Regions from separate parts of the Homo sapiens genome. Here regions 1, 2 and 3 are each linked to region 4. Evidence: promoter capture Hi-C in 16 types of primary human blood cells and fetal thymus (Javierre and others, 2016). All regions are on one chromosome and are shown on one strand. Each heading gives the region's core, a stretch centred on a gene start or on the middle of the fragment in contact. The rest is flanking DNA. Distances are from core to core; before and after follow the strand shown.

Region 1 (6,511 bases), core at 700-3,199, 330 kb before region 4:
TAAGTTAGGCACTCTGCAATCACTTGCATAAAAAGCTACCACAACTTCGCTATAATATACCATGTCAATTATTCAATGTCTGACTTATTTGTTTATTTCTATACAAAATTTTAGAAGCTGAATTTCAAGTTACAGTACTTCTGATTATTTTTTAAGATCTCATAATCTCATTTCTTCCCACACATCAGTTGTAGAATTGCTTTAAACTTTAATAACTGGCTAGCTGAAGTACTAAAAACACTTGGTTCCTACAATTCAGTCTTTGTCTCCGAATGAGCCTCTGTCACCTTGCTGTATATGTAACCTAGGTCAGGGAGAAGAAAGCTTAGTCTTAATGAACTATTTCTAACAAAGGTCAGTATAGAAACTGTGAATCTATCTAGACACAACTGCAATGACTTCATTGTACAGACTGCATTTTAGATGTGTAATTTTATCCTGGCTACATTTCCTCTATTTTATCTCTAAAACCTGCACATTACTTCATCTTTATCTCATATAGCATTCAATTCTAACTCTAACAGGTGCCTATCTCTGCCCTCTGACAACTATTTTTAGTTGGTCTACAGTTTTCAGTATTCCTATCCCTATAGAAATTACAGTTAAAATATTCATTTACTTGCATACAAAAAGAAATACATGAATTATATAGCTCTCTGATAAATGATACTGTTCTTCATACTGTTTGATAATGTTAATTTACATATTTATCCGGTTCCTAAGAAAATTCAAGTAAATGAGTGTCACCTACTTTCTAAGAGTTTCATAAGAAAATTCAATTAAATGAGTGGCCCCTACTTTCCAAGACATAAGTGTTCTACAGTAACCCTCTATAATTCAGCCCTGCAACTGGACTCCTACTGTCTAAAAAAGTACAAAGAATATAATTATCTTCTTCAGGACTTTTGCAATAATTAAAAGTATGGGTATCAATTTTCTACCTTTAGGCTAAAAATGGGAAGTAACCACCATTTTTATTTGCCAGAAATAAAATCCAGAAAACTGGATCAGTAGCTACTTCCTGATCACTGGACAATGTTGTTTTTCCTTTCCTCCACAACTATACTTCTTAATTTTGTTGTTCAAGGCATAACAAATATAATCAAGTTATATTCTGTTACATCTTAAATGAAATTTATAAAACTAGTAAATTCTTTCAATATCTAGTCTTAATTTTGTTAAATGAAATTTATAAAACTAGTAAATTCTTTCAATATCTAGTCTTAATTTTGTTAGATTTCATTGTTAATTAGAAATCCTTAAAACCTATACCTCCCCCCTTATTTTTTTTTCCAGAGGGTTTTTGTTTTTTGTTTGTTTGTTTGTTTTTTAAACACCTATTATGCCATGAATTCACAGGGAATAGGTTCCAGCAGCTCAGGCATCTTTCCACTGGTTCTTATAAAGTACGCGTCTCTGGATAGAGCAGGCTGGTGCTTCAGCTGAACCCAGAAACCTTTCTCTTTGGCTTATTTTTCTGATCATTTTCCTTCATGCATTTCATGAAGCTACCTCAGTTCTTAGAGTGCTTAAAAAATATGCTCAATACACATGTTAATTCTCTTGGCAAGAATCTTGCCCTTCGCAGTGGCTCATGCCTGTAATCCCAGCACTCTGGGAGGCCAAAGCGGGTGGATCACTTCAGGTCAGGAGTTTGAGACCAGTTTGGCCTATATGGCAAAACCCCATCTCTACTAAAAATAGAAAGAAAATTGCCAGGTGTGGTGGTGGGTGCCTGTAATCCCAGCTACTTGGGAGGTTGAAGTAGGAGAATCACTTGAACCCGGGAGACAAAGGTTGCAGTGAGCCAAGATCGCGCCATTGCACTCCAGCCAGGGCAACAAAGCGAGACTCCGTCTCAAAAAAAAAAAAAACCAAAAAAAAAACTTGCCCTTAACTTGTTTGTGTACAACAATGCTAATAGCATGCTCGCAGTCTTCCAATTTTGCCATGGTAACATTTGTGGACATTTCTTTTTGAACAGTACCCATTCCTTTGATATCTACAATATCATCTTTTTTGTAGAATCGCATGTCTGTGGCCAAAGGAACAATTCCATGTTTTCTAAGAAACCCAGAGAACGTATATCAGGAGTCTTTCCTCTTTCCCTTTATGTTTGTTATTTTGGTAAATTACTGGAAGACGGTAATTCCAGCTGAAAGAAAGGTATATTCTTTTCATATGCTAAATAGAGACTAATCTTTCTCCATTATTAAATACTCATACCACATTACATACTGGCACCACATAATATATTGAAAACTTACCTGTGGTTAATTACATGTCTTAAGTAATTGCAAAGTGTTGAGCCATCTGTGCAGTGCCATCAGCTGATGATGACATTATCAGTTTTTAAGTGCCAAACTGCAAACTCAGTGGACTTTTCAAGACCTTTCTCTGATCAGTGGTAACTGGTATGATGAATGGATGACTACAAAGTTGGTGAGCAACCCTAGATGGTCATCTTAGTAACTGTGAAGTGGTATCTTATAGTTTTGATTCACATTTCCCTAATGACTACTGATATTAAGCATTTCACATGTATATTGGCCATTTCTTTTTTTTTTTTTTTTTTTTTTTTTTTGAGACAGAGTCTCACTCTATTGCCTAGGTTGGAGTGCAGTGGCACAATGTCAGCTCACTGCAACCTCTGCTGCCTTGGTTCAAGTGATTCTCCTGCCTCAGCCTCCCGAGTAGCTGGGATTACAGGCATGCACCACCATGCCCGGCTAATTTTGTATTTTTAGTAGCGATGGGGTTTCTCCATGTTAGTCAGGCTGGTCTTGAACTCCCAACCTCAGGTGATCCGCCCACCTCAGCCTCCCAAAGTGCTGGGATTACAGGCATGAGCCACCATGCCCAGCTCACTTTGATAAATTCTAATGTGTCTATTTTTTTCTTTTGTTGGTTGTGTTTTTGGTGTCATATGTAAAAAACCAATGCCTAATGCAACATCATAAAGATTTACACTTATGTTTTATTCTAAGAATTTTATTGTTTTAGCTCTTAAAAAATTCAGGTCTATGATCCATTTTGAGTTTTGTGTATGGTGTGAGGTAGGGATCCAACCTCATTATTTTGTATGTAGGTATCCAGTTGTGTCCGCTCTATTTGTTGAAAATACATTACATTGTCTTGTGATCCTTGCTAAAAATTAGTTGACCATAAATGTGAGAAATTATTTCTACACGCTCAACTCTATTCCACTAATCAGTAAGTCTGTTCTTTGGTCAGTTCCATACTGCCTTGATTACTATAGTTTTATAGTGAGATTTGAAATCAGGAAATGCAAGCTCTCCAACTTTATTCTTTTCAAGATTGTTTTGGTTATTCTGGGTACCTTGCATTTTCACATGAATTATATTATCAGCTGTCAATTTCTGCAAAAAAAAAGGAAGCTGGAACTTTCATAGGGCTTGCACTGAATCTATAGATCAATTTGGAAAGTACGGCCATCTTAACAATATTAAGTCTTCCAATCCATGAGCACAGGATATCTTTTCATCTATTTAGGTCTTCCTTAATTTATTTCAAAAGTATTTTGTATTAATAGTTTTCAGTGTACAAAGCTTTCATCTTCTTGGTTACATTTATTCCTAGGTATTTTATTCTTTTAGATGCTATTGTACATGTAATTATTTTCATCTTACTTTGCCCAATCCATCAGAAGATTCACTATCTATGGCAGATACAGCCTTATGAAATGTATTTCTGAAATAATAAGACTTGAAAGTTGAAATCACACCTTGGTCCAATGGGCTGCAGAATGGATGTTGTGTTAGCATACATGAAAATAACATTAATATCCTTGTACATCTCCATCAGAGCTCTTGGGTAACCAGGTGTATTGTCGATGAGCAATAATTTTTTAAAAAAATTTTCTGAGTAGTATGTCTCAACAGTAGGCGTCAAATAGTAAACTATGCTATAAACAATGTGCTGTCATTCAGGCTTTATTGTTCCATTTACAGAGCACAGGCAGAGGAGATTTAGCCTCATTCTTAAGGGCCTAGAATTTTCAGAATGGTAAATGAGCACTGGCTTCAACTTCAAGTCACCAGCTACATCAGCCCATCAGCCCCTATTAAGACAGCCCAGCCTTTGAAGCTTTGAAGCCAAGCATCGACTTCCCTTCTCTATGACTTCTGCTCTAGCTATGAAAGTCCTGGATGGCATCTTCTTCCAATAGATGATGGTTTCGTCTACTTTGAAAATCTGTTGCCACCTTCGTTGATTATTTTAGCTAGATTTTCTCAATAATTTGCTACAGCTTCCACCTTAGCACCTGCTGCTTCACTTTGTACTTTTGTATGGAGATGACTTCTTTTCTTAAACCTCATGAACCAAACTCTGCTAGCTTCCAACTTTTCTTCTGCAGCTTCCTCCTCTCTTAGCCTTCACAGAATTAAATAGAGTTAGGGCCTTGCTCTGGATTAGGCTTTGGCTTAAGAGAATGTTCTGGCTGGTTTCTATACAGACTACTAAAACTTTCTCCATATCACCCATAAGGCTGTTTAACTTTCATATTTGGATGTTCACCAGAGTAGCACTTTTAATTCCCTTTAAGAACTTTCCCTTTGCATTCACAATTTGGCTATTTGGCACAAGAGATCTAGCTTTCAGTCTATCCTGGTTTTTGACATGCCTTCCTCACTAAGCTTAACCATTTCTAGCTTTAAATTTAAAGTGAAATACATGTGACTCTTTGTTTCACTTGAACACTTAGTGGCCATTGTAGGGTTATTAATTGGCCTAATTTCAATATAGCTGTGTCTCAGGGACAATAAGAGGGAGAGAGATGGGGCAACAGCCAGTCAGTGAAGCCATCAGAACACACACAACATTTATTAAGTCTGCATCTTATATGGGCATGGTTTGTGACACCCTAAAACAATTACAATAATAACATCAAAGATTACAGATCCACAGATCATCGTAACGTATGAAATTATAATAAAGTTTAAAATATTGCAAAAATCACCAAAATACAACACAGAAACATGAAGTGAACATATGCGATTAGAAATTGACCTGCTTGACACAAACCTTCAATTGCTAAAAAATGCAGTATCTGCAAAGTGCAATAAATGAAGTATACCTGTACATAAGATCATGATATCTGCAAGCAGAAATGGTTTTACTTCTTTCTTTCCAATCTGGATGCCTTTTATTTTTTTTTTCTTATCTAACTGCCCTGGGTAGAAGCTCCAGTACAATGTTGAGTATAAGTCATGAAAGTTGACAACCTTATTTCTGATCTTAGGGAGAAAGGATTCAGTTTTTCACCATTACAAGTGCCATAAGCTGTGGGTTTGTCATTAATGCTGTTTATCAGGTTGAGAAAGTTACTCTAAGGTATTTTCATATTGAGACATACTAATACCCTTTGCATCTTAGTAAAAACCAAGGCTAAAATGGGATTTTGACTAAACTTTCCAAAATTACAGGACCCAATCTAAAACTGTAGACTTTTAATCCAGCTGAAGTTATAGGTTAATTTCAAACCTAGAATAAAAGTTTGACTTCCCTAACCCTGCAACCTGACTTTAATGCAAGCAAATACCCTTTAAGTACTATTAGTTGAGGTAAGAGTTTTAAAGAAAGTTCTGTCAAACCAATGTTGTTTCTTTCCTACTAACAAGTGTACATTTTTTTGTAGAATGTGTACACCGTGTAAAAAAACTATGCCCTTTTTAAACAAATATCTTAAAAGCATACAAAATAGGCAGTGAAAACGATTTCAGATATGTTCTTCCTGCCAAGGAATCCTAAATTAGTCTGATGATGTACCAAGAGAAAACACTGCCTAACCCTCAGTCATAAAGATTTACTCTTACGTTTTGTTCTAAGATAAGGCAGACCAAAACCATCACTCTCTCAAAACATCCATGTAAAATGGGGACACGATAGGCAGTATAGAAAAAAAAATGCATTCATTATCGTGTCCAAACAATTGGAATAAACAGAACTAATCCATCAAAAATTCTAACATGAAAAATTTGAAATTTTTTACAGGATTCTTGCCTACAAGTATAAACAAATCTTTTCCTTGTAAAAATGCTTACCATTTTCAAGTCATGGGATGAGAAAGGAATAAAGATCCCACAAGTATAGCATAAACTTCATCAGATAAAGTGTTCTCCTTTATAAAATTACCTATCCTTATCTTAGTGCACTGTATGGTATCCTAAAGGACTAAATGAGTCCATATGCTTCTAAAAAAGTACGATAAACTCCGGCATGGTAAAAATCCTTTAAGCTGTTCTTACTTATCAAGTTTTCTCATATAATTTATTTACATCTTAAGAATTCATTAAATTTTCTATTTGCCTATTATAAAATTCTTTTATTATGTCAACTGAACTCTCAAGAGTATATATCTTCATCACTTTTCACTGAAGTCATTATAATGTGAAAACATGTTGATTATAAATCTACTATCACATATCATTTTTTCATTCAATGAATTTTTACTTAATGACTGCTATGTGCTAGGGTAAATAAGACAAAG
Region 2 (6,224 bases), core at 1,794-4,293, 360 kb before region 4:
ACTAGGGTCAGCAATGTTGGAACTGGGATTACAGTGTAATTAAAACACTTGCTTTTCCCACACTTTACTGTTCTGGGTTAACTGTTGGGAACCTGATTTTGGTCAGCAACTTTGCCTCAATAATCCTCACTGCCTCTTAAAATTCCTTCATAATGCTAAAAGCAGTCATTGTCAGGGAGATTAGAAAGGCATTTCTGTAGGAGTTCTCATACCTATTCTAACCAGAAACTTGAGTTGCAGTGACTTCAGAATCCTCTAGTCATAACGCGCTACAGTAGGTTTTACCTGTACCTTTTTGAGACGGAGTCTCGCTCTGCTGCCCAGGCTGGAGTGCAGTGGCTCGATCTCAGCTCACTGCAGCCTCCGCCTCCCAGGTTCAAGATTCTCCTGCCTCAGCCTCCTGAGTAGCTGGGACTACAGGTGCATGCCACCACGCCCAGCTAATTTTTCGTATTTTTTTTTTTAGTGGATAACGGAATTTCATCATGTTGGCCAGGGTGGTTTCAAACTCCTGACCTCAAGTGATCTGCGCACCTCTGCCTTCCAAAGTGCTGGGATTACAGGTGTGAGCCATTGCACCTGGCCTACCTGTACCTTTTAATATAAATGTCACTCAGGTGTTCTATAAATAGGGTACCCTAAATAAGATTAGTGGAACTTCCAGACTTGTTTGCAATTTGAATAATAGTGTAGCTAAAGGATGCTCCCAAAAGTTATTTAGAGAACAGATCATGAGAATGGCTTTGTGTCCTACCTGAGGCAGTTAATATTATTATTAATGTGGCACATTAAACCACATGCAGTTAGGTTATATGGAGTTACCAGTCAGGCTCCTGTTTAAATTGCAGAACAGGAATGGCAATTATAATTCAAACTGCCATTTGATTTGGCATTGATACTGATTTGGTATCAACAGACATTTAGGAGATAGTTACCTCTTAAGGTGTGGATACCCATTCATGTTTTTGCCTTCATAAAGAAGGATGGTACAAAAAGAAAGGTATTCTTCGTTCACAGTTTTTATTTCTTCCAATTAACTTTTGTGTCTTCAAAGTTGATTTGTCTTTTAAAAAATTAATACTTCTTACTCATACAATCTACACCACCCCAAGGAAAACAAACCCAGGGAAGGGTAATTTAGGGGGCAGTTAAAATGTGCACTATAGGTTTATAACAAATGCTTTCCAGCCCATAATCCTGTACATATGCAACAAAATGGCACCTCAAGTTCATCTGAATGAAGGCCCAAATAATGCAAGCGAAGGCCATGAGAATAACAAAACAAACAGAAGCTTAGTCACTGGCTTCATTCACTTTGTATGGTAGCACAGTCTTCAAACTGTCTCACACTTGATCAAGAGTAAGCAAACACAGAGACAACATCTTGACTCAGCCATTAGTAATTATAAGTGAAACCAGAAATAATTTACCTGGGCCACAAAAAGGAATTGTTTTGTCCTGTTTTTCATTAAGTCCCTAGCACCTGAAACGTAGCAAGTTCTGATACTGGGCTTCTAAAGGCATGCAGTTTTTCACTCACATCTACTTCAAAGAATTTCTTCCACTGAAACATAGCACAATCAAGGAAAAACTTCTTCTGGAGGCAAAGGAAGAGCACAAGTATATGTTGAGGCGTAATGTATGACCAAGATGGTACACTATATATAGAAGCAGTGAATGCTGTTAAAGTGTCACTCACAAAGGGATAGTCTAACATTAACACACAACTCAACTGCACTGCTAAATATGGTTGTCTTTATTTTCTTTTTCCTTGCCCAGCCCTATCTAAACATAAAATAAAACTACAGGACTGAAATTAACAATCCATTAAAATCAGCAATAAGTTATGAAAATCATAAAGCTTTTTTTTTTTTTTAAGTAATTAAGGGTAGTTAAATTATTTAAAGTATACAAAGTCCAAACAGCCAGGGGTAAGGTCTCCAAGAGGCCTTCCCAGGGTAAGGGAGAGGGCCACAAGGGAACCTTGGAGTTTGAAAGACAAAGGGAACACATGACATCAAAGTGCAGGCTAGAAATTTCACTTAGAAGAAAATAACATTACTGAAAATATTCGTAAGAGTAACAATAGCACCTGCACAGTGGGACTGTGAGGAAGAGAGAGACTGCCTGTAGGAAAATGGAAGCAAATCTTTACATTAAAATGAGACAAGTGCTGAACTTACTATGTTAACTATGATAGTGTGTCTACTATAGATATCAGATGGTTAAAAGCTGGTAAAAGGTAATGATTCTAAAAACAAAAATAGCATTGACCCTTTTTCTACCTAGCCCAGACCTCATTCATTTTGTGCACTATAAAGAGTGAGGTGTGAGGTGTTTTATCATTATCAAATGCTGCATCAAAATAGATGATTTTTTTCCCCATGTGTTTTTCCACTATAAAAGACATCTATTTTTTTTTATGGATAAGCTTTAAAAAGATGTCATTTTGGTTTTCAACACATATAAACAGTTATCAAAATCTGAAATAAAAATGCTGCTGTGGCTCAGACCTTGGCCTGCTAATCTGCGTGCACAACTCTTCTGACCCACGCAGACAAAGAGGCACATGGAGCTTTTTCCTTTTGGCCCCCCCAATCCATACTCATAGGCCTTGTAGGATAGAGGCTGTCATGCATGGACTGCTCCCATGTGGCCTAAGGGCAGCAGGATGGAGAGGTGGCAGCTGGGTGCCTAGTGCTAACAATGCAGGATAAGGTTAGCTTGCTTAGCATGGAATCCAACAGAAAGTTGAGCTGCATGATGATCCCTTTCAAAAGGCTTCATGGGAGTCTCTCCTTTTGCAGAGCATGAAATGAGCTTTTTTCAAAAAAAAAAAATAATAATAAAGGATTGATCATCCACAGGCTTCATGATAAACTGTCCCAGGCTGAGTTTTAATAGCTCATTATTAGCTATCCAAGATTAATACCTGATTTTCTTGTCTTTTCATTCGAATAGTTTTTATTTTGCTTTTAGGACCATAAAGCTCAGGAAGGGTTCATAACCCCATCCTTAAATGTGTCTACTCAATGTAGTATGAGCAAACTAGAAAAGAGAAAGAGGATGGCATCTCCAATGTCCTCTTCTCAATCAACTCAAATCAAGAAAATTTCACACAAGTTTTCTGCTGCCATTAAAAATTGTGATTTTTCCAATATGAATATTCTGAATATTTGTTCTCCTTGGGAGGCTCTGCCCCACTTTTTGCTAAGTATTTGCTTAAATACAGGTCCTCTGACCCTTTTGTTCAAGTATAGTTTTGTTTTGTTTTGTTTTGTTTTAAAGAGGAGACTGCATCATGAACCCAATTTAAGAGATTGTTTGTATTGAATTGGCCCAGTGAATATTTTGCCCTGCACTGTTATGTCATGCTGGGTTCTATGAAGTGAATGAAAGTTTGACACTGGCACTGGAGTAACCCTCGTCACTCCCAATACTCGGCAGGCTGCTGTGGTCATCAATGTCACTGATGCTGGTGGTACTTATATTGTCCACTTCTCCATGGGAGAACTCTGTGCTTTCAACATCCACTTCAATCTCCTCTGCCAAAGGAAAAAAAAAAAAGAAGAACATTAATTATCGAGTATAGCGCACCTTCAAAAACTAACAGCATGAGGAAAAGAGGTATAAGAAATGTTACACAACAAGCTTATTATCAGTGATGTCTGGAGAACAGAGGAACAAGGTGAAGAGACAGGAATATTTTTTGCCAAGGGGAATGTCTGATATACAGTGGTGGTCTTAATTTAGGCAGCAAATTTCCTAAATCCTTTGACGCCAGTCCGTCTGGACCTCCCTAAAGCACTTGGCGTATTTGGGAATTAGTGCTTAATATTAAAAGGTCCCAACCCCCAAGTGGTTTAAAAACATCTGTTTTGCATTAAACCACAAACTAATTCTCAGTTCTGTTTATTAATCAGGGTTGCCTTAAAGGGTGGGCAGGAGCATAAACTTAATATAGGCAAACTAGAAAATTTACCCATCCAAGCCTTTGGTGGTGCCATTCTACAGATAGTTCAACAGACTTCTAGGATTCATCATAAAGATCTTCAACTAGTCAGTCAAACAAGTCATTATAAAGTAGAGTTTGAGGTATATGTCTTAGATTTAATTTTCTTGCATCAAATATAGCTTGAAATAAGGGCCTGAGACTTAAAAGTCTTCAGATTATAGTGAGATCCATTTTGGTGGTAGTATACAGACTTAAAAGCCAAACATTAAAAAAAAAAAACACCACAAATACATATTTGACTCAGCTATCAATAGATAATGTTGCTGGACGCAGTGGCTCACGTCCGTAATCCCAGCACTTTGGGAGGCTAAGGCAGGAAGATCACTTGAGTGCAGGAGTTTGAGACAAGCCTGGGTAACAAAGTGAGACCTCATTTCTACCAAAAAAAACACAACAACACAAAAATTAGCTGGGTATAGTGGGTGATCCAGTAGTCCCAGCTACTCGGGAGGCCAAGGTGGGAGGATCACTCTTGAGCCCAGGAGGTTGAGGCTGCAGTGTGCCAAGGTCTCACCACTGCACTTCAGCCTGTGTGACAGAGTGAGACCCTGTCTCTTAAAAATAAAAAAAAAAATCTTAATTGTTAAATACTAGATATTCAATCATCAATAATATACATAAATCAATACACATGTTAAAAACAAAAAGGAGTTAAAAAGTTGTTTTCTCCCATCAGAGCTAGAGTGAAACCCAGGATTTTTCAGTTACCTTACTTAAATTCAAAGCCTGATGTTTCACATTTGGCACTGACTTTTTAAGGGTTCACACTAATCACAACTGCTTTAAAAAAAAAAAAAAAGTGGATTCAGCCGGGTGCGGCCAAGCACTTTGGGAGGCTGAGGCAGGTGGATCACGAGGTCAGGAGTTCAAGACCAGCCTGACCAATATGGTGAAACCCCGTGTCTAGGCTAAAAATAGAAAAATTAGCTGGGCATGGTGGCACGCGCCTATAGTCCCAGCTACTTGGGAGGCTGACGCAGCAGAAACACTTGAACTTAGGAGGCAGAGGTTGCAGTGAGCCAAGATCACGCCACTGCACTCCAGCCTAGGCGACAGAGCGAGACACTCTCTCTCAAAAAAAAAAAAAAAGTGGATTCTTGTGAGGCCAAAAGGACAGGGTGAAGCTATTTCCAGGAATATACTTTTCAAAAGGGCTTGTTGCTTCAAAAGTTTTAGAGATTCTAGAGATGTTTTTAAAATGTAGGCAGCTGTCCAAATAATCTGTGAATTCATATATTGGCTCTATATCCGAATTGCTTCAGAAGCCATTGTTTCCCAGCACCACTGAACACTCATCCAACCTACAACTAGAAGATAATAACAAGGCACACTATCCAAAAGAGCATGCTGAACTCAGTCAAAATAAAGTAAAATGATGGCCAACACAGTGGCTCACACCTATAATCCCAGCACTTTGGGAAGCCAAGGCAGGAGGATTGCTTGAGCCCAGGAGTTTGAGACCACTTGGGCAACAAGGCCCATCTCTATTTTAATAAAATTTAAAAATATGTTTAAAAAAATTTTTTAAAAACCCAAAAAAACAAAGTAAAATGAGAAACTGCTTTAGCCAAGTGTACCACAGATGTTAACTAAAAGCCCCCATAACACTACAAAAAGGAGGTTGCCAGCTCAGGATAAGGATGGTACTTGGTAAGGTACCGCTAAAGTAAGGTACACTGGGAACACTAAAAAAAAATGAGAGCTATAGTGATGAAAATACACCCTCCTCTCTGAAATTTGGAGGTAGTTGGGGTGGGTACAAGGAGGAGGTAACAGGAAGGACAGCTAAAACCTAAAGACCTAAGAAGAGGTTTCCGCTAGTTAGCAATAGAGGAAAGACTGGGACACCAAGGTCAGGGTTATTTCTGCTATATTTCACTGTTACTGATAAATGTAGCATGTACTTCAGGTTCTTGCTACTGCCTCTGGTAGACTTTTCTTGAAAACTGCCACACAAAAATAAACTTTTACATAGAAAAATAACAAAACAGAAAAACAAGAACTCCTAGGGTTGTGTTAAAAAGGTTGCGTTAAAAAGGATGAAAAAACTATTTAAAAGGCTCCTACTCAGCAAATCTGGGACAGTTTGAGCATTCAAAAGAATTTAAAAGGATGACTGCAATGGATTGGAACACATTCAGTACAGCAAAACATGAGTTCATGATATAATCAAAAAATAGTAAAACCAAAACTTGTTACTTCTGGAAGC
Region 3 (6,357 bases), core at 1,707-4,206, 310 kb before region 4:
GCAAATTATCAAACCTGAAGGGGCTGTAGGAACCTCTGAATTTGCAGCCAGTTGGTCAGATGTGAGAGTGGCCTGAGGACTCCTGAACTTATGGCTGGCATCTGTAGCGAGGGCAGACATGTTGGGGACTAAATCCTCAAACCTGTGAAGTTTGTTTTAGCTCTGTGTTGTTAGTATCAGTACTGCAACAGTACAAAATACAACATGAATAAGTAGGATTTATTTCAGGAATGCAGGTTTAAGACTCAAAAATCCATCAATGTAATCCTCCATATTAACAGAATAAAAAAGAAAATGACAGTATCACCTAAATAGATGTAGAAAAAGCATTTAAATAAAATTTACCATCCATTCATGATAAAAACTCTTAGCAAATAAGGGAAGAAGGGAATTTACTCAACCTAAAAGGCATCTAAGAAAAACTATAGTCACACTCAATGGTCAAAGAATGCATTTTTTCATAAGATCAGGAACAGGGCAAGAATGTCCACTCTCATCACTTCTATCCAGCACTGTACTAGAGGTTCTAGCCAGTGAAATAAAACAAGAAAAGGAAATACACAGAAGGAAATGGAAGAAATAAAAATGTCTTTACTTGCAAACAACATTACTGTCTATTTAGAAAATCCTAAGGAATATACAGACTATTAGAACAATTAAGTTTAGCGAAGTCAGTTCACAAAACCAAAATGCCAAATTTAATTGCTATTTAAAATAGCATCAAAGAATACTTAAGGAAAAATTTAATAAAGTATGTGTATGACCCATACTCTGAAAACCTAAAAAATACTGCTGAAATTTGAAAATATCTAAGTAATAGACATACCATGTCTATTAATTCATGTTAATGAATTAGAAGATTCAATAGTTAATACATGTTGGGTTTCCCCAAATTAATTTATAGATCCAGTGCAATCCCAATAAAAATTCCAGCAGGCTCTGTTGTAGAAACTGACAAACTGATTCTAAAATTTATGTAAAAATGCAGGCCACGCACAGTGGCTCACGCCTGTAATCCCAACACTTTGGAAGGTAGAGGTGGCAGGACTGCATGAGCCCAGGAGTTCAAGACCAGCCTGGGCAACATGGTGAAAGCCTATCTCTACAAAAAATATAAAAATTAGCAGAGTGTGGGAGTGCACACCTGTAGTCCCAGCTCCTCACTCAGGAGGCTGCGATGGGAGAATCACCTGAGCCCGAGAAGGTTAAGGCTGCAGTGGGCCATGATCATGCCACTGCACTCCAGCCTGGGTGAAAGAGTGAAACCCTGTCTCAAAAAAATAAATTAATTAAAATAAAAATGCAAAAGACCTAGAATAGCCAAAGGAACTTTTGAAAAAGAAGAACCAAGTCGGAATACATTCATTACCTGATTTCATAACTTTTTGAAAAACTATAATAATTAAGACAGTGTGGCATTAGAATAAGGATGAATATTTAGATCAAAGGATCAGAACAGAAAATCCAGAAATAAGGCTCACAAGTCTGTGGTCAACTGATTTTCACAAAGGTGCCAAGGCCATTTAATGAATAAAGTATAGTCTTTTCAACAAATGATACTGGAACAACTGGATGTCCATTTGCAAAAAAAAAAAAAAAAAAAAAAAAAAAAAAAAAAAAAAAGAACTTCAACCTTTACTTCACACCCTCTACAAAAATTAACTCTAAATGAATTTTAAATCTAAATGTAAAACCTAATATTATAAACTGCTAGAAGAAAATAGAGAAAAAAATTTTTTTTGAGATGGAGTCTCACTCTGTTGCCCAGGCTGGAGTGCAGTAGCATGATCTCAACTCACTGTAGACTCCACTATCCGGGTTCAAGTGATTCTCCTGCTTCAGCCTCCCAAGTAGCTGGGATTACTGGCGTGTGCCACCATGCCTGGCTAATTTTTGTGTTTTAGTAGAGACGGGCTTCACCATTTTGGTCAGGCTGGTCTAGAACTCCTGACCTCATGATCCGCCTGCCTCGGCCTCCCAAAGTGTTGGGAACACAGGCATAAGCCACCACACCCGGCCAATAGAGCTTATTTATTTATTTATTTATTTATTTATTTTTTGAGACAGAGTCTTGCTCTGTCACCCAGGCTGGAGTGCAGTGGTGCAATCTTGGCTCACTGCAAGCTCTGCCTCTTGGGTTCACACCATTCTCCTGCCTCAGCCTCCCGAGTAGCTGGGACTACAGGCACCCGCCACCATGCCTGGCTAATTTTTTTGTATTTTTAGTAGAGACAGGGTTTCCCCATGTTAGCCAGGATGGTCTCGATCTCCTGACCTCATGATCTGCTGGCCTCAGCCTCCCAAAGTGCTGAGATTACAGGTGTAAGCCACTGTGCCCGGCCAAGCTTATTTTTTTTAACTAATAAACCTCATCATGAAACTGAGGCAATAATTTACCATAAAGTACTCAGAGATGAGAGTAAAATATCAATGTTTTTCTGTAGGTGATTAATAATAAACAGTACTACAAAGTATCTCATTTGGAAACATCATTCCTTTGGAGAATATTTGCTCTCATGTACTTTTTAAAAATCTTCATTTCTGGCATATTAATCTGCTGTTAGTCAAAGAGTATGACAGTCAAATTCTCATCTTCTATAGCAAGAAACGCTTCTCATTTAGAAATATGAAAGCAAACAACAGAAGAAGCTGTGAAATTATCGGAAGTGGTAGTCTCTAAGAAGCAGAAATTGGATGGAGAGAGGTGGGGCATGGGGATGTTATTTTCCTTTATAAGCTATTTAGTATTAATTGACTTTTTAAACTATATACATATATTACCTTTATAAAATGTTAAGAATTTAAAATAACTAGTTCACCTGGTAGCAGCAGAAATTAAGAAGCATCTTATACATTCTAAAGTTAAATATTGTTTGTAAAATAATATTTCTTAGGTAAGGCAGCAACACTAGAAACTACAGAGAATTTTGAAGGTTAAAATAATTGCTCTTAAACATATTCTCGAAGTTAAAAAACACATTAAGGTAAACAACTAATTATCTAGACTACTTCATTTGTTAACAACAAATTCTATTACAGAGCAATATTCTAAAAAACCTTTAAAAGTACAGAAAATATCAGCAATTTCCTAACTCATCTGACTTCCAAAGGTAATCATTTTAAGAGTCAGGCATGAAATAAACATTCAGTAAATAACTGTTGGGGGAAAAACGAGTGGTACCATAGATGTATAACACCTGCATCTATGGGGAGGAGCTGAGTATATTAATAATAATATAAAAGTTAGGAGCAACTTCAAAAAAATAGGTTTGATATTATGGGTAATGCTGTTAATTATGGTACCACTGACTGTGTTTTAAAATGTAGGAAACCAAAACAAAAAAACAATCTAACAAAAAATGCATGTTTATATTTCATCAGCACTATACAATCACACTAAAAATGGGACCTGGAAATACACTCTGTCAAAGCATACCATCAAGCCTCTTTGATTAGATTAGTATCTAGAAAACTGTCCTTACTGAAGAAATGACAAAGAATCATGCTATATTCAAAAGCAGGCAATGTTCTTTCATTTGCAAGGAGAAATCTAGAAGAGAAAGCTTTCTTCCAGTCAACAGTACTGCCTGATTATAACAATGATGCATATATTGCTTAAAATCCAGCTTGACAATAAAGTCAACCATCATCTACAGCTGTAAGGCTTAAGCAATCACCATCTCTAAGCCACATGTGCTTTAATCATAAAATGAGTGATAATATTTTGTCTTCATAAATCAGAGAATTGTACTAAAGAATTCCCTTTCTACATTTTGTGATCTTCTACATCATATATTCAATATTTTGACAAAAATGCCTTTCATCGACTAGGAACAGAAACAGCTGTCCTACTGACTTACAAGGCATGATCATACAAGTTTCCTTCAATACTTCCATAGAGGAATATAACCTTAAGAAACCCAGCAATAGCAAACTTACACTTCAAAGAAGCATTTAAAGGAAAGCCTCAGTTTTTTTAGTATAAGGCATATAAGTAATTCTTGGGAATTTTTCATTTAAGTCAATTTTGGTAGAAGACAGACTATCACAAAACACATTTCACTGGATGTGTTAATCACTCAAAATGCAGAAAATACTTAAGAATAATAACAACATCATTAAGAGTTTAACTGCTACTAATCTACATTTTTGTCCTGAAACTTTGGGAGTTTTCTACGGAACAAAGACCCAGAAACTACTTTTTAATATAAAAAAATTTGAAAAACACAGAATAGTAGAAAAAAATTACACAAAAATAAAAATAAGGCTTCATTCAATTCTTCTGTGAACAAATAGGTTCACGTAGAATAAAGAGAAGATAAAGCATCTCAAATTACTACTGGAAAAAATCCTTTGAAACTATCCTAGGAAAATAATTCACCACCATCCCTCTCCCCAGAAAAACTAAAAATCCATGAAGATAGCTGAAAAGGATGCAAAGCTAAAAAATAACAATACAATAATTCTATCTAAAATAAGACTAAAGCATTTCTTTATTCTACAGTTTAAGAAAAATTAAACTAAAGCCTTATAAACAACAGAAAAGTTGTTTTTTAGTGTCCTCAATCTTAGAAAGTGGAACTGAGATACTGCTTTTATGAGATTCTTTAGTATCCATAGGACACTAAAGAGAAGAAATATATCAACTTGAAATTAAAGCATAAATTGGCTATTTACTACTTCCCAGATTACCTTAAAACAATGCAATTACTATGTGTGTGTCACAGGCTCATATGAATATTTATTGCCAATATCTGAAAGACTTCTGTTTCTTTCAATATGCAAGTTTGGTATTATTTTATTTTCATGACACAGGATGACACTGAATGTTCTTCAAAATTAAGTGTAGCATTCTGTAGCCTGCTTGTTTAAAAGAATTGACAGTTTAGAGATTTTTATTCTTTAAATACTACATGCTGTTTTTCCAAATGTATCATTAACATCCCTTGGAACACAAAGTAATCAGAGTTTGCCAAAACAGGGGTTTTATCACTCTTCCTTCCAGTCTAATATGGTACTCAGCACAAAAAAGAAATTCAATTTAAGACAGTCTGCTTGGAGTTTGAAAACCTTCCATTCTTTAAGAAACACATACTATTTACGGGGCACTGTGATAAGTACTAGGGATAAATGTTTAAGCAGAAGAGACTCAATCCCTGCCCGCCTCGCAGGGTTTTTAATCCAGTGAATAGGACACGAATTTAAGAAACAACTGGATAACTGTATTTCTACAAATGTGATGAACACTATGAAGGAAAAATAGGGGTGCCATGAAGTATGTGAAGACCTGATCTACTACGGCAGATGAGGAAACATTCCTGAGGAACTTATGATTGAGCTGAAGAAGAGTGTTATTCAACAGAGATAACAAAGGGGGAGGGAAAATGATTCCCTGCAGGGAACAGAAAGTATGCAAAGATCTTGAGGTAGAAGAAAACGCGTACTGAAGGAATCAAAAGAAGGCTGGCCAATGTAATTCATAAGAACTGGCCAAGTGCGGTGGGTCACACCTGTAATCCCAGCACTTTGGGAGGCCAAGCCGGGCGGTTCATGAGGTCAGGAGATTGAGACCATCCTGGCTAACACAGTGAAACCCTGTCTCTACTAAAAATACAAAAAATTAGCCGGGCATGGTGGCAGGCACCTGTAGTCCTAGCTACTCGGGAGGCTGAGGCAGGAGAATGGCGTGAACCCAGAAGGCAGAGCTTGCAGCGAGCTGAGATCGCGCCACTGCACTCCAGCCTGGGCAACAGAACCAGACAAAAAAAAAAACTGTAGTTGCAGGGACACCAGGTAGGAAGTTACTGCAGTCGTCCAAGTAAGAGATGATGGTAGCTGAGATTAGGAGGATAGTAATGAAGGTAACAGGAAAGAAGGCCGACTGAAGAGATATTTAGGAAGAAATCAGTGTTACACTGCAGTCATGGCTTATTTAGTAGAGTTTTAAGGATGACAGACCTTGAGATTTTTCACCTGTGGTACCAAATAGTAAAGAAGCTGGAATTTGAACTTATCTGATGCTCCCCAAAAAGCCAGATAGCTATTGCAGCCACATTCTCTAACAGCAGTAACATCTTAGCAATGTTGATTTTTGGAAGTGTGCCAGAAGGCTGTGACCAAGACCACAGTAAAATCAAGCATTTATTTTAATTATATATTATAGGTGCCACTTCCAACTATCAGAAGGATCCCAAATGATAAAATTACTGGTATTTGCAAGGAACATATTTGTAATATCACATTATATCATTTATTTTCTCTCCTTTTTACTTCTTTGAAAATAAGATTTTAAGGAATGGGGGAAAGGGGAATAGGAATTTATAATATTAGGAGTTAACTACTTTCAGCATAAATTTA
Region 4 (6,430 bases), core at 1,329-3,828:
TGTTACAGTACCACCACTTACTAGCTCAGGGACTTTGGGCAAGGGGCTTAACCTCTGCAAATTTCAGTCTCCTCAACCAGTAAAATGAGGATAAGAGTCCTTCACCCATTGGTTTGTTGTGGGTTAGACACATAGCCTTCAATGAATGTCAGGCAGTGTGACTGTTCCACTTCTTTGAGGATGCAAGGACTGTAGAGCCAGGAGAAGAACCTATATAACTCCTGGTGTTCTCATTCTCTCATGGTAATTCAGTGCTATAACTTCTCCAGAGGTTCTCTTGTTAGAACTTCAAGAGCGAGGCCGGGCACAGTGGGTCATGCCTGTAATCCCAGCACTTTGGAAGGTCGAGGCCAAGGAGTTCAAGACCAGCCTGACCAACATGGTGAAACTCCGTCTCTACTAAATACAAAAAATTAGCCGGGTGTGGTGGCGCATGCCTGTAATCCCACCTACTTAGGAGGCTGAGGCAGGAGAATTGCTTGAAGCCGGGAGGCAGAGGTTGCAGTGAGCTGAGATTGTGCCATTGTACTCCAGCCTGGGCAAAAAGAGCAAAACTCCATCTCAAAAAACAAACAAACAAAAAAACTTCAAGAGGGGAAAGGGTTCCTTTTTTTATCTTGCAAACAGGAACTCAAATCCAGCTCAGGGAATGCAAGGTATTTCTCTCTCTCCCCTGAAGCTGGATGCCGTAAATTCTGAGCCAACTCCTTTTCTTTTAGGCAATGTGATTATTAAATACCTGTCCCCCTTAAGTTTCACTTATCTCTCTCTCTCTTATCTCGTTTTCTCTTATAACTTGATTTTTCCCACCAGCTTTCAGATGTGGGCTGGAACCAGTATTTTATTTACAATCTCTCTGTTTTTGGCTTCATAAATTTGGGGAAATGCAACAGATGTGTGCTGCTTTCCCAGGAAGCACATCTTTAGTTTTTTCATGCTTTAACTACACAGTCTAATTCGGCTTGCCTAAATGCTTATTCAATAACGACTTTGAGTTCTTGCAGGTAGCAGAACCTAGCTGATACAGGTATATTAGGCCTTACACCAAGGTCAAAGCAGGAGGAGGTGCCATTCACCTTTAAAAAAATGTGGTCACTTTCATTTAGTGCCAGGTGTTGTTCTAAGCACCAGGGAAATAACAATGAACAAGAGAGCCACCATCCCTGCTTTTGAGGAGTGCACATTCTGAAACATTCATTTCTGCAGAAAATATATAATGAGAACTTATGACATGTTAGATATTGTTCATCATTAAACAAAACAGAAACAATCTGCACTGATGGTTTTGTTGTGTGCGTGGGTGGTGGCAGGAGAGGGGGAAGAATACAGTACACATAAGTACATTAAAAGAATCCTGTTAAAAGGTGGTAAGTGCTATGGAAAAAATGAAGTAGGGTAAGGCGGATTAGGAATATTGGAATGATTTACAAATTTAAATAGGATGGTCAGGGTAGGTGATACTTGAACGAAGACTTGAAGGAAAATGAGGAAGGGAGCCTCAATATTTGGGGGATGAGCAAGTCCAAAAGCCCTGGGACATGAGTGTACCCTGCTTTTTCAAGGAGAGCCAGGAGGCCATTTCAGCTGAAGAAGAGTGAGGAAGGTGAGAACAGGAGGAAATGTGGCTGGGGGTAGATCAAATGGAGCTTTTATGCTGCGTGAAACGAGAAATTAATGGAAAGTGCTGAGCAAAGAAGTGACCTGGTGTCACGCTTCAAAGGACTGGTCTGGCGGCTTTGTTCAGGCTGGACTGTGCAGGTGCGGGATGGTGAGGGGATATTTGGGGGGCTGCTGTAACCACACGGGTGGGGTGGTACAACCCTCTGATGCACATCAGAGGGTAGGAGGTGGAGGTGGTGTGACACGGCCAGATTAGGGGTCTATTTTGGAGGCAGGGCCAACAAGATTTTGCTGGCAGATTAGATGTGGGGTGTGAAAGAGAAGAGGCAGGGAGGATTCCTAAATTTTGCCTCTTAAGAATAGAGTAGCCATTGATTGAGATGGCAAAGAAGACTGGTGGAGAACGTTTTTGCTTTGCTTCGGTGCATTGGGAGTTCCAGGAGTTCCGTTTGGACGTTAAGTTTGAAGGGGCTATTTACTATCCAAGCGGAGCGGAGAGCTGGATTTTGAAGCTCTCTGGGAACATACTTTTGGGGACATTTCTAAAGCTTGAGACCCTGTTCCAAAGCCTCGAAGACCCTGTCGAGGTTCTTCCGGAGCCGGCCACGTCCCTCTCTTCTCAGCCCTCCTAAATTAAGCCGGAAAATCCCTGGGACAGTAGCCCCTTTATTCGGCAAAGCCCTTTTTCCTCTTTGAGGAATGACGACAAAAACGAACAAAAATGAAGACACTCAGCAGCACTGCGTCCTTTCCCCGCTCGCTGCAGGGAGAGGCAATGCGGACTGGTGTGGAAGGGCAGGCCCCGCTCTGGGCCGCAGGCGCTGCGGCCGCGAACCCCAGGTCCGGGAGTGTGGGCGGGGCCTGCGTGTGGGCGGGGCCGCGGCGCCAGCGCCCGCCACGGGCGAGGGCGTGGCCGACCCGGCGCTAGCCCGCCCGCCCGCCCGCCGGCTCTCGCGCCTCCTTCGCGCCGGCCCTTCCGCGGGTGATCAGCTGGTCTGCGCTCCCCTGACGTGGGCTGGGGCACGTCACCGCCGAATGGCAGCCTCCAGAAAGCCACCGCGAGTAAGGTGAGGGCACTCCGCCGGCAGCCGGCGTCCGGGCAGCGTGCAGCCCTCGCTGCGCGGCCGCGCGTGTTGCACCTCGGCGGGCAGGGACGCGCGGGTGAGGAGCCCGGCCCGCCGCAGTCTGGCGAGGGCCGCGCTCGCCGGAGCCCCGGAACAGGAGCCGGGGGAAGGGGTCCATGAGGCCGGGCGAGATCCGGTTCGTTTCCGGAGGGTCGGTGGGCACGGGGCGGCCCGAGTCTGGTTCCTGGACGCGTATGCCCGCGGAACTGCTGCACTCGGCCTGAGGGGGCGGCGGCCGTCACAGTTCCTGGCCCGCGGGAAGGCCCCGTTCTTGGAGGAAGTTGGCCCCTCTTCGTGTCCGGGGAGGTGGGCGAGCCTTTGCCCTCGCTTCTGTTACCCAGGAATCTAAACCTCAAGTTACAATCTCGACAATACTGACTCCTGCAATTCACTCTACTGATCTGTCACCGCCACAAGGATAGACGGTCGCGGGCCCCTCCCTACCCAAATGGTTTCAGAGGCTGTGTAAGGGAATATTTTGGTATAATCTCCAGGAAAATCCCCCCAGTAGCCTGCCCTGGGCTCTCCTTGGGCATAGGAGGGTGAGACAGATAATTTCCCGGCCTCAAGTTAAACATGTTTTAGTTTATTCCCCTGCCATAACCAGGATGTACTTATCAGAGCCTCTGACAAAGTGGGAGACGGAGAGAGGTGTTCAGAGTTCATGGAGGCCACAGGCCAGACTCCCTGGCCATCCCCAAGGGGTCACCCACCTGCTAACCACTTGAGACATGAATGCACTCACTTTGCAGCATGGCCAGGCTTTCTTGCTGAACACAGACCATGGCTCCTGCTTGTGTTTGTGAGTAGGGGGGTCCCAAACCTACCTTGACCTGGATTTGCCGTTGCCACAGCTTGTTAAGGGTGAGCAGAAAACCAGACCCACCCTGTGGAAGTATGTGGGAGGGGTGGAGAACTTCCATCTGGAAGGAGCTTCCTGTAAGTGAAGTGCTGGAAATGGAGTCAGGCAAGTGGATAATGATGAGTTAGGCTGTAGGCCTCAGGTGGTCTTTAGGGGGCCAAGGTGATCTGTGCTAGATTTATAGACTCACAGCCTTTTAGGAGCAGAAGAGTCTTTTCTACACCAGCTGGTAGAGTCTTTTTTACCTCAAAGGAAAGTCCAGTGAAAGGCTGAGAGAGGGGAAGCCATTTTCCACAGGCGCCTCCCCTACTGGTAGAATTTGAGTGCCATTCCTTGTAAAAGTGAGCACTTCTTTCAGTTTCGGTAATGGAAACTGAACTCAAATTGATTTACCTAAAATGGGGTTGAGCTGGCTTCTAGTGTGGCTGAATCCGGGAGCACCACCAACATTGGCTTCAGACTTCTCTTTATCATCTCTTGGCTCTGATTTATTCAGTATCCGCTTCATTCTCAGGGAGACTTTCTCCTTATGGCAGGTTATGACAGTTCTAGGCTGACAGCCCCAGCAGAGAAGTTGAGCCCTCCTTCCTAATGGAGCAGAAGTCCCTGATCTGATGCTCACTGGGCTGCCTTAATTCTCATGTTCATCTGTGAACCAATCATTATGGCCAGAGGGAGGGATTGACCTGCTTTGGGTCCCAGAGCCTGTTAGGTGTTTGGATAAGACTGCTTTGAACCCCTTGGGCTGAAATGGAGAGGGTACATTCTCAAAAGGAAAACCAAGGTTCCCATCAAAAGGAGGGATGGATTCTGGGTAGACAAAGACAACATTGCTTACTTCCCAACCTTAGAACTTGTTCCAGTTTACCCTTGTCTCATCCACTAGGTGTGATTGAGCATCTTGTTCCTTGTTTTGCCCCATGCTGAACGCTACACATGTGTGATTCCCATGAACTGGGGGTTGCAGGGGGGTGAGGTATTCAGAACCCTGCCAGAATTTCTTGGAAAAAGAGGGAGAAGGCCTTTTCTAGTGCTACCATAACCATCTTATACAAAGATTGAAAGTGCTCTGCATGCTTCTTGCCCCTTACCCACTTTGTGGCTCATCATGAAGTTGAGAAGGTGTAGGTCGAAGAAGTTCTGGGAAGGGTAGGAGCACTGAGCTGGATGTTGGGAGGCTGGAACGCTGGTTCTAGCTCTGTCAGCAGTTAGCTGTGAGGCCTTGAGCCAGTCATTTGATCTTTGTTTCTTGGTTTCCTGGTCTAGAGGAGGGAATTGAGTTGGATAGTCCCTGAGGTATATTCTTCTAGTTCTTAATATTTAATGATAATTGTGCTTTGACAGAGAACTTAAGAATTTTATCTGTCCAAACAAGTGAAAGGTGGATAGATCTTGGACTCTGCGGAGACCAAGATACGACAAGAACAGAGCAGCTGTAGTATTGAGCTGCTTCGTAGCTCCTGTGATCCTGACAGAAAGGTGGAGGTGTTGATGCTCACACAGAGAGTTTGAGCTCACCTGTCAGACCTAGTTTCTGGTCTTGGCTTTGCGGCTACTGAGTTATATGGCCTATGGTAAGTTATCTTTGTTTTTTTATTCTGTAAAATGAATGAATAGGATTACCTTAAGGTAACCTTGGCTAGGCACGGTGGCTCACACCTATAGTCCCAGCACTTTGGGAGGCTGAGGTGGGAGGATCACTTGAGGCCAGGAGTTTGAGACCAGACTGGGCAATGTGGTGAGATCCTGTCTCTTCAGAAAATTATTAAAAAAAAAAAATCAGGTTGGTGTGATGGCACATACCTGTAGTCCTAGGTCCTTGGGAGATTGAGGCAGGAGAATTGCTTGAGCTTAGGAGTTTGAGGCTGCCATAAGCTAAGATTGTGCCACTGCACTCCAGCCTGAGTGACACAGCAAGACCCTGTCTCTAAAAAAATGATAACCTTCCACCTCTGTAGTCATGTGTCTGAACCAGTCATTGGGATCAGTTACTTACCATCTTAGAAACTTACGTATGAAGTAATGGGAAATTCGGTGAGAATCTGACTTGTATCCCTGTCCACAAGAAAGAGATGTTATAAAATTTATAATGGCTTTATTGAGATATAATTCACTTATATACAATTCATCTGTTAAAATGTACAATTCAAGTTATTAGTATAGTCACAGAGTTGTACAACTATCATCACAATCATTTTAGAACATTTTCTTCATCCCCGAAAGAAATCCTGTTACCTGTAATCAGTCACTCCTCACCTCAGCCCTTGGCAACCACCAACACTGCATGTCTACTTCCTGTCTTTACCGATTTGCCTATTCTGGACATTTTATGTGAATAGAATCATATACTATGTGGTCTTTTGTATTAGGCTTTTTCCCTTAGCATGTTTTCAAGGTTCACCTATGTCATAGGTGTGATTTCTTTCTTTTCTTTCTTTTTTTTTTTTTAAATGAGACGGAGTCTTGCTCTGTTGCCAGGCTGGAGTGCAGTGGCACGATCTTGGCTCACTGCAGCCTCCACCTCCCGGGTTCAAGTGATTCTCCTGCCTCAGCCTCCTGAGTAGCTGGGACTACAGGTGTGCACCACCACACCCAGCTAATTTTTGTATTTTCAGTAGAGATGGGGTTTCACCATGTTGGCCAGGATGGTCTCTATCTCTTGACCTCATGATCTGCCCGTCTCAGCCTCCCAAAGTGCTGGGATTACAGGCGTGAGCTACCGCGCCTGGCGTGATTTCCCTTTATTGGCAAAGAACATTCCATTATATGGATAGACACTTTTATTTATCCATTTATCAGTTGGGCATTTGAGTTGTTCCTACAG

Evidence for each region. Contacts are between HindIII fragments. The CHiCAGO score rates a contact against its expected background, and 5 or more counts as called.
Region 1: a fragment that was not itself captured here is called in contact with the fragment with the promoter of XPNPEP1 in region 4 in 5 of 17 cell types (activated CD4 T cells, total CD8 T cells, naive CD4 T cells and 2 more); the score reaches 6.2 in activated CD4 T cells.
Region 2: a contact is called between a fragment that was not itself captured here and the fragment with the promoter of XPNPEP1 in region 4, in 8 of 17 cell types (naive CD8 T cells, activated CD4 T cells, total B cells and 5 more). The highest score is 6.9, in naive CD8 T cells.
Region 3: a fragment that was not itself captured here is called in contact with the fragment with the promoter of XPNPEP1 in region 4 in 3 of 17 cell types (total B cells, total CD8 T cells and naive CD4 T cells); the score reaches 6.0 in total B cells.

Annotation. Positions count from the first base shown.
Region 1 is chr10:110,252,676-110,259,186 of GRCh38, reverse strand. The region is part of intron 3 of MXI1 (MAX interactor 1, dimerization protein); the gene reads right to left. Among named protein-coding and RNA genes, the nearest start is that of MXI1, 48 kb to the right of the region's middle. The HindIII fragment of the contact is 3,245 bases long and covers 327-3,571 here.
Region 2 is chr10:110,282,145-110,288,368 of GRCh38, reverse strand. It overlaps MXI1 (MAX interactor 1, dimerization protein), which reads right to left. Exons shown (of 6, transcript NM_130439.3): 6 at 1,004-3,545. The coding sequence ends at 3,382. Among named protein-coding and RNA genes, the nearest start is that of SMNDC1, 20 kb to the left of the region's middle. RefSeq lists an enhancer at 2,483-2,984. The HindIII fragment of the contact is 1,220 bases long and covers 2,434-3,653 here.
Region 3 is chr10:110,231,391-110,237,747 of GRCh38, reverse strand. All of the region lies in intron 2 of MXI1 (MAX interactor 1, dimerization protein), which reads right to left. Among named protein-coding and RNA genes, the nearest start is that of MXI1, 27 kb to the right of the region's middle. The HindIII fragment of the contact is 1,218 bases long and covers 2,348-3,565 here.
Region 4 is chr10:109,919,659-109,926,088 of GRCh38, reverse strand. It overlaps XPNPEP1 (X-prolyl aminopeptidase 1), which reads left to right and starts at 2,578. Exons shown (of 21, transcript NM_020383.4): 1 at 2,578-2,687. The coding sequence starts at 2,656. RefSeq lists a silencer at 2,363-2,902. The HindIII fragment of the contact is 9,615 bases long and covers 2,171-6,430 here.